Linked DNA regions of Homo sapiens: all the other regions are linked to region 2. Evidence: promoter capture Hi-C in human tissues and cell types (Jung and others, 2019). All regions are on one chromosome and are shown on one strand. The core of a region is centred on a gene start or on the middle of the fragment in contact, and the rest is flanking DNA. Distances in the headings are between cores, read along the strand shown.

Region 1 (3,372 bases), core at 620-3,119, 60 kb before region 2:
ATTTTTTTGTGAAAACGTTTTGTAGATGTGGTTAACATCTCCAATCAGTTGACTTTTTTTTAAATTATACTTTAAGTTCTAGGGTACATGTGCACAACGTGCAGGTTTGTTACATATGTATATATGTGCCATGTTGGTGTGCTGCACCCATTAACTCGTCATTTACATTAGGTATATCTCCTAATGCTATCCCTCCCCCCCTCCCCCCACCCCACAACAGGCCCTGGTGTGTGATGTTCCCCTTCCTGTGTCCAAGTGTTCTCATGTCCAACAATGATAGACTGGATTAAGAAAATGTGGCATGTATACACCATGGAATACTATGCAGCCATAAAAAATGATGAGTTCATGTCCTTTGTAGGGACATGGATGAAGCTGGAAACCATCATTCTCAGCAAACTATCACAAGGACAAAAAATCAGTTGACTTTAAGTAAAGGAGGTTACCCTCAGTAATGTGGGTAAGTCTCATCAATCATTTGAAAGGCTTTAAGAACAAAAACTGAGGTTTCCAGGAGGAGAAGAAATTCTGCTTCACAACTGCAATCTCAACTCCTGCCTGGGCTTCCAGTGCCACCCTGCCTTACAAATTTCATACTTGCCAGCCCCCACGATCGTGTGATATACATATGAATTGAGCCAACTGACACACACACACACACACACACACACACACACACACACACACACACCACGGAGAGTAAGAAAGAGAGGAAAAGCACCCTATTGGTTCTGTTTCTCTAGAGACTCCTGACTGACACAATCACTATAGCTTTATAGTGATTCTTCAAATCAAGTAGTCTTAATCCTCCAACTTTGTTCTTATTCAAACTTTCCAAATCTATACTAGTCTACTCACATATAATAAAAAAGAAGGGAAAGATCACATCCCACTGAATGTTCAGGAGGAATGTCCAAAAGAGATAGTCTGAACTGGACCCTGAGGATAGGAGAATTTTCACAAATATAGCAGAATCAGTGTTATTCCATTATAAGGGGAGGAAAGCTGCTTGAGCGAGACCTCAGAAGAATAATTTTTCCAAAATACTCTGGAAATTGGAGTCATCCAGTATGGCTAGAAAGTAAAGGGTATAGAAAAAAAAAGGCAGTATGTTTGAAAAGATACCTTGGGTTAGTGCTCTGAAACTGCCTTATACAAAAAGAAATTTATTAATACACATAATTGAGCGATCAAAGGTTATGACATCAGGCGTGGCTGGTTCCAGAAGGCTTATTCTCTTTTGTTTTTTCTCCCTCTGTTCCCCTTTCCCCTATCCCTCTCTCTCTCTCTCTCTTGTCAACTCTGCTTTTCTTTATGTTGATTTCAGTCACAGCCAGGTCTTCTCTATTAGGTGAACTCTGACAGCTATAGGTTTATACTACCTGTATAACTTCCAATCCTTGTAGGAAGAAAGCTTCTTATTTTTATACTAGTTCTAATAAAATAAAATACAAAATCCAAGAAACGAGTCTTATTTGACTCATCAGGTTACATGTCTACACCAGAACCACTGTGTTTATGAGATTGGGATATACTGGCTTTCTCGACCTGGGACCTGTGACCATCATCATGGGGGAGAAAGGTAAGGTGGAAGGTGCTGAGTGAAGTCAGCAGAATTACCACATCCTTTCAACTTCCTCCCGTGGAGACTAGGTTTTTGCAATTTCAGCATTTGTTTTTTCATTTCATCCTTAAGACTTCTCTGACTGCTGTTTTATACATTGCTTCTTCCCTTTAAAAAAAAATGTTTAAACTTCTGCTTCTTTCCCCTGCAGTGTCAGTATCACATGTGCAGGTTTCAGCACATCTTGTTGCTCCCTGCTTGTCAGTCAGTTCTCTCCAGAGTTCTAGTTTATTGCTGTCACCACTGGAGTTTGCAACAGATTTCCATTTGGCTCCTTTTGTGAATCTTATTAATATGCAGTTATCACCTCTCTCCACATCATTAAAAGACATTAACCAAAACCAAACCTAATAATGAAGTCTGAAGATTCTGCAGCAGTAACTCCTTCATAGAAACTAAGAAACTTGACAGAGGAGGAATTTGGGTAGGAAAATGGAAAGGGCTTCTTTTTCTAACACACAGAGTTTTCATCAATCTCAAAAGGAGACTTGGAGAGGAAAATAAAAGAACTACAGTGTAAGGTCAGAGAGATAGAAAAGTAGGTCTCAGCATCTGTTTCTGTATGTGTAAAGTAAAAATCACAGCCATGAGCAGCTGCAAGGTTTGGAGGTCTGGGGTTACAAGCTGCTGTTTAAGTGAGGACTCAATTATTAATAGTAAGGCTAAATGGAGGCGCGGTTGACAAAGAATTTTAGTTGTTGGCTTTCCTCCTTCATGCTCTGAAACACTCACCCTTTGGTATTAGAGGTGCTTTTCTGTGGGTTGGTGGTTTTGTTTTAGCCTGAATGTCACTCAGAGTTATCATTGCTGAAAAAAAATCATCTTTCTCCACCAACCCACAGTTGGATTTGTTTGAGTTGGACCTTTCCCTGTCTTATTCACTGTCTTGATCTTGACTGATCTTCAAAAAGTTCAAATCCGTAAGTTCACGTCCATTATCACTCTCACCTGGACCACTGAAGCAGGTAGATGTTATTATCAGTGGCCTGCTTTGTGTATCTAGGATAGGAAAGTAAAAAAGAAAAACCACTCAATGGATTAAGGATGTGACCCTTTGAAGGCAGCATGGCCATATGTCTAGTGCTACTTAATGAGTAGTACGGGGACACGATGCAAGTTCCTTTGAGGCTGGAGCATTTAATTATCAGCCGAAGACCCTCCCATGCTGGGTGCAGTGACAGAGCCCCCATCAACCTGGGTGCCTATGTGATTACAATGAGCAAAGTCTTCCTGACAATCTTTGTTGAACACATAGTCTGAGTAACCAAAAACCTTTGTTGTTTTAAATTTCTAAAATTCTAGGGTGGTTGTTTACCAAAGCATAACCTAGACTATTCTACTGATACAAATATTGGAGCCGAAAGAAGGGCTAGTATAACAATAGCAACAACAATAATATGGCCAAATGGGGGAAAAAAAACAGTCCCGAAATATATGACATTGGCTTATGTGCCAGGTGATAGGTTGTGAGAAAACTGATATTAGAGGCTTGAAAGTTGGTAATCCACTTCATTTAATGGCAAAGCATTTTATAAAGTTGCCACCTTCAGTCATTTTGCAGGCATATCATGCATCTAACTATTTTGGAGCCATATCGTGCTTCTAACTAGGAGAAGAGGTTGGGAAAGAATATCGTAGTGTGCACTGGTTGCTGTTGGCTATACCTGTCAAGGTCCTATAAGCAAGAGATGGTCTCAGCAAAGAATTCACTTACTTGGAAATAGGAATGAAAGAGAATAGAGAGCATC
Region 2 (3,328 bases), core at 661-3,160:
TGCTTTCTAAGAGACTAGGTCATGACAGCTCAAGAATGACCCGACATTTCTCTTCATCCAAAATAAGCAGGCATATTGCTCAATGGGTACCCTATGACCACCTGAATAAAACCAATATCTTTTCATAACCTCATCCTGAAACATTCTCCAAGCCTGCTGGTGGGTCCAAAGCTGGTCTGTCTTATCCATGGACCCATTCTCTGGAATTCAAGAGGTGCTGCAAAAATGCTGCCTCAAATAGCTCTGCCTGTGGCCCTATATCCCCTATTTGAGATTAGTTCACTTAGGTGCAAACATTAGAGGCTGATATTAGAGTGTGTTACCTTGTAGAGATGATGTTCTTTAACTCAGTGCAATCATCAGATTTAAAAGGTCTCCAAGAAGGTCATTATTTCAAACTTGAGAATCTCTCATGAGAAGCTCTACTGTTCTTTCTATCTACTGCCAGCATCTTTTAAGTATTAACTCACTTACTTCTCATTACAGTGTGGGAGGTATTATGAGGAAACTGAGGCACAGAGAATTTAAGTAACATGTGGATGTTAGTGAGTGAGTGGCTGCAGTTTGGAGCTTGAGCACCATGTTCCAGTGTGTGCTCATCACCAGGCTTCCTTCTGGAAGGGAGAGACAGAGTCGGAGTCTGGAAAACAGCAAGGGAGGGTCTGGATCAGGGGACTGTGAGCAGGCCAGGTGTTGTGAGAGCTGACCGAGGACATGGCCTAGAGGCTGATTATGGAGATTGTGAAAATTGCTATGGAAAAGAAATTTCCAGAACCCAGATTTTGGCTACTTTTGAAAGCATTTTTGAGGTAATACTGTCCTCTAGTGGCTAGATAGCAGGTAGGGATTACCCTCCAAATAAATAGCCAATGAGCCTTGAGTGGAGATGGTATGACAAGTCAGTGGTAAATTCATCATTTTGCTCTCTAACTACAGGTTCTAAAGGAAAGGCAAACCCCACTGCTATGGTCATCGGTACAGCTCAGGATTTCGGCCTCCTCTGCTCCGTGTGTTGGCTACAGGCTAGGTTCAAATCCCAATTCTGCTCTTTACTGCTGAAAGGCTTTGGGCATGTTCGTTAATCTCATTTTCTCTTCTGAAAAAGAGACAATCTTGAAAAGATTGACCTTCCGTGAAGATCAAATGAAGTAATGCGTGTAGTGTGTCTGGCACGTCGTAAGCGCATCACACACGTGAGCTGTGGCAATACTAAGGAGCAGTGGCAAGAGCTGGGGGAGGAGTGGAGACGAACAGACCTGGACAAATTAGTGACCTTTCTGGGACCCCTACAGAACTCTTCTGGAGAAATTAATTCTATTTTTCCATGTACTTTTAAGTTTGCTTTTCCTAGCATTTCTTCTACATTCCTGAATAATTTTCCACTCAAAAATTTCACTGGTTCTCCCTGACTCCCATATTAATCTAGACATAATTACTTCCCCAGAACAGTTCTGTGGGCAGGGAGGGCTCTACACTATGCACCCTCCAAAATCCCCAAAGCTCGGACCGTCCTGGCCTGGGTCCCCACTGCTGTCCTGCCCATGGGCTCCCAGGCTGTGCTTGCTCTTCTCCCACCCCAACCCCATCACCACAAAAAGCCCCTCCTCCAACCCGGGGACTTTTGTAATTTCCTACCTGAAATCATCCACTCCCTACCTCTAACAATCTGTGATGAGCAGAGGACAACATCAAGTTTGAATTTAGAGGTAGGGAATGGGTGATTTCAGGTAGGAAATTACAACTTCACTTTGAAGTTTAATTTTGTAATAAACTTCACTTAATTTTGAAGTAAATTTGCAAAGTCAGCAAAATTCTTTCAAAGTCAACCTTGCTCTGGCCTAGTTGCTTATTTACTGCTAAGCTGGATGTTTTCATTAAAAGATTAACTTTGAGACTTCAGCCTCTTCTTTAGCCTGAACTGTGGGTAGTGATGTGGTGTGTTTCCTAACACCTCCGGCAGTGAGCCAGGCTTTGAGTGGCTGCGTCTAAACACTTCTTTCCCTGAGGACTGGAAGACATTAGAATAAGGTTTGTCATTGAGTGTGTTCTGTGTGCTTGGAACTGAGAAGGGTGATGAAGTGCCAGATAGGATGGGAATGGAAGATATCGTGGAAGCCAACTATGAGTTTGCAAGGCAAGGACCTTGGCAAAGATGGTCCTAGGGAGACAGGTGTTAGGGAACTCAGAGGGCATGGGCAAAGGAAGATTTGGTTTCAAAAAGGATACAGACAGAGAAGGTTAAGTCTAGGAAGTTGAGTCTTAGAATTGTATGGTGGAATATTCGTGGGTGTCCATAGGAGGAAAAATGGGTTAAAATGTTTTCACTTGACAGCGTTCTGAAAACCTAAAAGGTATTGCTATTGCCTTCAGGGATATATTTAGTATTCTGACCACTGCTTCCCGGCCACAAGCAAAAGAAAACAGTGACATGGCTATGCTCCTAAAAAAGTAAAGAAGTTAATGTGTCTCAAACAATGTAGTTCCTTTGAGCAATAAGCTTATTTGGAACAAATGGGTTACAAAGTCCCACTAATGAAGAGCCTCTGATTGTGTTAAGTTGAATCTACAGATCAACCTGCGGAGAACTGCCAAGAACGCTAATGAAGACAGGGAGGTACTGGTATAAAGATAGATAACAGATCAATGGAACAGAATAAAGCGTCCATTAGCAGGAAGCAAAATCCGCAAACTTTTATTCTTAACTACTACTATATTCTGCATTTTACAAGATCCTTCAATTCTCACAAGATCCCTATGAGATAGACAGTAATAACCTAATTTAAAGATAGATGAGAATTGGAGCTTGTCTAGAATAGATTGAGTGGAACATCACTTGTGGTATATCATTTGAGAGGTAATGGGAATATTGCCAAATTCCCAGGTAACTCTCCCCTCAAAGGGACTCCTGTTGTACTCTAAATCGTATCAGCTATCAAATGATGAGCTATGAAAGTCTGTCTTCTTCGACTGTAAGCTTCTTGAGAGCAGAAACTGATGTGATAAAGGTCCCCCCCCATATCTCTAGTGTTTAGCATAATACTTTGATATATTATGTTAAATCAGGCTATGTTATAGTAAAGAATAAACCTTAACAACTTAGTGAGATAACACATAAATATTTATTTCTTCCTTACACAATATCAGCTGATCTCCAGGGCTACCCTTTTCCAAATGGCGTTTTGGGAATCCAAGTGGCCTTTCTCTTACAGCTTTGCCTTCTTGAGGATGGAGGATCGCTGTAGAGGAGGAAACAAAGCTGGAGGGTCACATACCAGCTCTTCAATCCTTGGCCTAGAATTCACACCTGCTATTCCCACTCCCAGGCCAT
Region 3 (3,393 bases), core at 789-3,288, 33 kb before region 2:
GGCTGCAGCCAGACCCATGGAGTGAGGCAGTGAGAGGCTGAAAGGAGAGGCTCTACAGACAGTACAGGGAGGCTCTTGGTATCTCCCATTGCCACTGCACAGCACAGCACGGCAGAGTAGCAAACGCATATGCCATGTCTTGTTGGGAGACCTGGGCCCTGCTCCAGACTGCTACCAAGTAGTTTGGGACCTTGGATGAGCTGCCTCAATTTCTCCATTTGTGAAATTGGGAGGTGACAGCGTGCTGGCAGCCCTCGCAGCCCTCGCTCTCGGCCTTGGTGCCTGCCTACTCTGGCCGCCCTTGAGGAGCCCTTCGGCCCACGGCTGCACTGTGGGAGCCCCTTTCTGGGCTGGCCAAGGCTGGAGCCAGCTCCCTCAGCTTGCCGGGAGGTGTGGAGGGAGAAGCGCGGGCAGGAACCAGGGCTGCTCATGGGGCTTGCCGGCCAGCGCGAGTTCTGGGTGGGCATGGGCTCAGTGCCTGCGCACTCTGAGCGGCCGGCAGGCCTGCGAACCCCGGGCAGTGAGGGGCTTAGCTCCTGGGCCAGCAGCTGCTGTGCTCAATTTCTCGCCGGGCCTTAGCTGCCTCCCCGCGGGGCAGGGCTCGGGACCTGCAGCCCACCATGCCTGAGCCTCCTCCCGCCGTGGGCTCCTGTGTGGCTGGAGCCTCCCCGAGGAGCACCGCCCCCTGCTCCACCGCTCCCAGTCCCTCAACCACCCAAGGGCTGAGGAGTGCGGGCGCATGGCACGGGACTGGCAGGCAGCTCCACCTGCGGCACCGGTACCGGATCCACTGGGTGAAGCCAGCTGGGCTCCTGAGTCTGGTGGGGACTTGGAGAACCTTGGTGTAGACACTCTGTATCTAGCTAATCTAGTGGGGATGTGGAGAACTTTTGTGTCTAGCTAAGGGATTGTAAATACACCAGTCGGCACTCTGTATCTAGCTCAAGGTTTGTAAACACACCAATCAGCACCCTGTGTCTAGCTCAGGGTTTGTGAATGCACCAATGGACACTCTGTATCTGGCTACTCTGATGGGGACTAGGAGAACCTTTGTGTCTAGCTCAGGGATTGTAAACGCACCAATCAGCACCCTGTCAAAACGGACCATTCAGCTCTCTGTAAAACAGACCAATCGGCTCTCTGTAAAATGGACCAATCAGCAGGATGTGGGTGGGGCCAGATAAGAGAATAAAAGCAGGCTGCCCCAGCCAGCAGGCACAACCCTCTCGCCTCACCTGCCGCAGTGTGGAAGTTTTGTTCTTTGGCTCTTTGCAAAAAATGTTGCTGCTGTTCACTCATTGGGTCTACACTACCTTTATGAGCTGTAACACTCACTGGGAAGGTCTGCAGCTTCACTCCTGAAGCCAGCGAGACCACGAACCCACCGGGAGGAACAAACAATTCCAGACGCGCCGCCTTAAGAGCTGTAGCAGTCACGGCCGGGCACGGTGGCTCACGCCTGTAATCCCAGCACTTTGGGAGGCCGAGACGGGCGGATCACGAGGTCAGGAGATCGAGACCATCCTGGCTAACACGGTGAAACCCCGTCTCTACTAAAAATACAAAAAAAATTAGCTGGGCATGGTGGCGCACGCCTGTAGTCCCAGCTACACGGGAGGCTGAGGCAGGAGAATGGCGTGAACCCGGGAGGCGGAGCTTGCAGTGAGTCGAGATCGCGCCACTGCACTTCAGCCTGGGCGACAGAGCGAAACTCCGTCTCAAAAAAAAAAAAAAAAAAGAGCTGTAGCAGTCACAGCAAAGGTATGCAGCTTCACTCCTGAGTCAGCGAGACCAGGAACCCACCACAAGGAAGAAACTCCGAACACATCCGAACATCAGAAGGAACAAATTCTGGACACGCTGCCTTTAAGAACTGTAACACTCAGCGCGAGGGTCCCCTGCTTCATTCTTGAAGTCAGTGAGACCAAGAACCCACCAATTCCAGACACAAAAGGAGAGGTTGGATTAAATGTTCCTCAAAGTCTTCCATTTCTGGCTTTTTATTCCAGTGCCCAAAGTCCTTCACACAAAGCAGGTGTCTTATCAGTTGATTGGTCAGGCATGGCCACTATTTTTGGCCGTGGGCAAAGGAGTCTGGTGGGGACGGGGCTGAGAAGTATGCTAGGTGAGTGTCTCTGGCACAAATGGCTGAGCTGCAGAGCCCCAAGCGGCATGGCAGGGACCAGGAGACCCGATTCCTGATCTGCCGCAGTTAACCTGGTGACTATGAGTGAGACACACAACTGCTCTCCATCTCAGTGTCCCCATTAGGAAACAGAAACACCAGGCCCAACCTACCCAAGTGTGTCAGGAAACTGAGAACTGCTCTGGTCTCATGCTGGGACGGTGGCACAGTACACCAAGTGGTATCTTCTCCCAAAGTCTGCTCCTGTGGTAGGAGTCATAGGTCATTGAAGTACACTATAATTGAGTGGTTAAGGTGGTGAGATCCAAAGTCAGGCTGCCTGCATTCAGATCATCCAGCATCCTAACCATTAGGCAAGTTACAGAACTCCTTTGGGCCTTGACTTTATCTGTAAAATGGGAATAATAATCACAGAGCATACCTCATGGGATTATTATGAAGATTAAACACGTTAAAAACTTAAAAATGCTTCTAATTATGCCTGGCACGTTCAGCAGGTATTACATAGGTGTTAGTTTTGTTACTGCCAACCTCTCTCAAGCTTTGGGTGCCCACCAAATGTCCCTTTAGTGTGCACAGACTTGTGTCTTCTTCCAGGAGAGGGTAAGGAAAGCTGCCCAAACTTTCAGCTGCATGGAACAAGTACCTTCATTCATTCATTTCCAGGACAGAGATCTCCGAGTGCCCACAAGGTACCAAGCCCTATGCTTTGGAGGGTCAACGTGACTTTCCACCTTGGCTACCACCTGCATCCACCAGGAGAGCACACAGTGGGTGCCTTCCCTGCATGGTGAACAGGAGCAGCCTTGTGTATGAGTGAAAGAGTTTTATAAGGCCAGCTGGACCCCAGGGTGGTGCCGTGCCAGGTATAACGCCAGAAGCTTCCCATCATACTTTAAGACTCTAGTGAGGGGATTTGAGCCAGAGCCAAGACTAGGATTTAGTGAGCTATTTGATTGGAGGTTTCGCTGCCTCCATCTAAAGCCAATTGATTCCACTAGTGGTTTACCCTTTCTCAACATCAGCTGTGACTGGCTGATTTTTTAAGATTACTATCCACACCCTCTCAAACATTAGAACAATGAATTTCCCAGTTCAAGTTCTATATTTTCTCAATTCCAGAGGAAAGAAAATGACTACTACATGTGTGTGATTTTGTCCCTGGGAGCATCTATGAAATATGCAGCATTCTCTTTCTAGCTGGGAAATCACTTTAAAAATACTATCTCTAATTCATCTTCATGTTT

What was found. Contacts are between HindIII fragments. The study calls those that stand out against the background at their distance.
Region 1: a fragment that was not itself captured here is called in contact with the fragment with the promoter of HAO2 in region 2 in 1 of the 25 tissues and cell types used here (H1 embryonic stem cells).
Region 3: a contact is called between a fragment that was not itself captured here and the fragment with the promoter of HAO2 in region 2, in 1 of the 25 tissues and cell types used here (psoas muscle).

The regions. Positions count from the first base shown.
Region 1 is chr1:119,306,709-119,310,080 of GRCh38, forward strand. No RefSeq gene overlaps it. Among named protein-coding and RNA genes, the nearest start is that of LINC01780, 20 kb to the right of the region's middle. The HindIII fragment of the contact is 6,234 bases long and covers 1-3,372 here.
Region 2 is chr1:119,366,875-119,370,202 of GRCh38, forward strand. It overlaps HAO2 (hydroxyacid oxidase 2), which reads left to right and starts at 1,911. Exons shown (of 8, transcript NM_016527.4): 1 at 1,911-2,028. It overlaps HAO2-IT1 (HAO2 intronic transcript 1), which reads left to right and starts at 2,072. Exons shown (of 2, transcript NR_046780.1): 1 at 2,072-2,134; 2 at 3,210-3,328. The HindIII fragment of the contact is 9,840 bases long and covers 1-2,735 here.
Region 3 is chr1:119,333,355-119,336,747 of GRCh38, forward strand. All of the region lies in intron 2 of LINC01780 (long intergenic non-protein coding RNA 1780), which reads left to right. Among named protein-coding and RNA genes, the nearest start is that of LINC01780, 6.8 kb to the left of the region's middle. The HindIII fragment of the contact is 3,396 bases long and covers 341-3,393 here.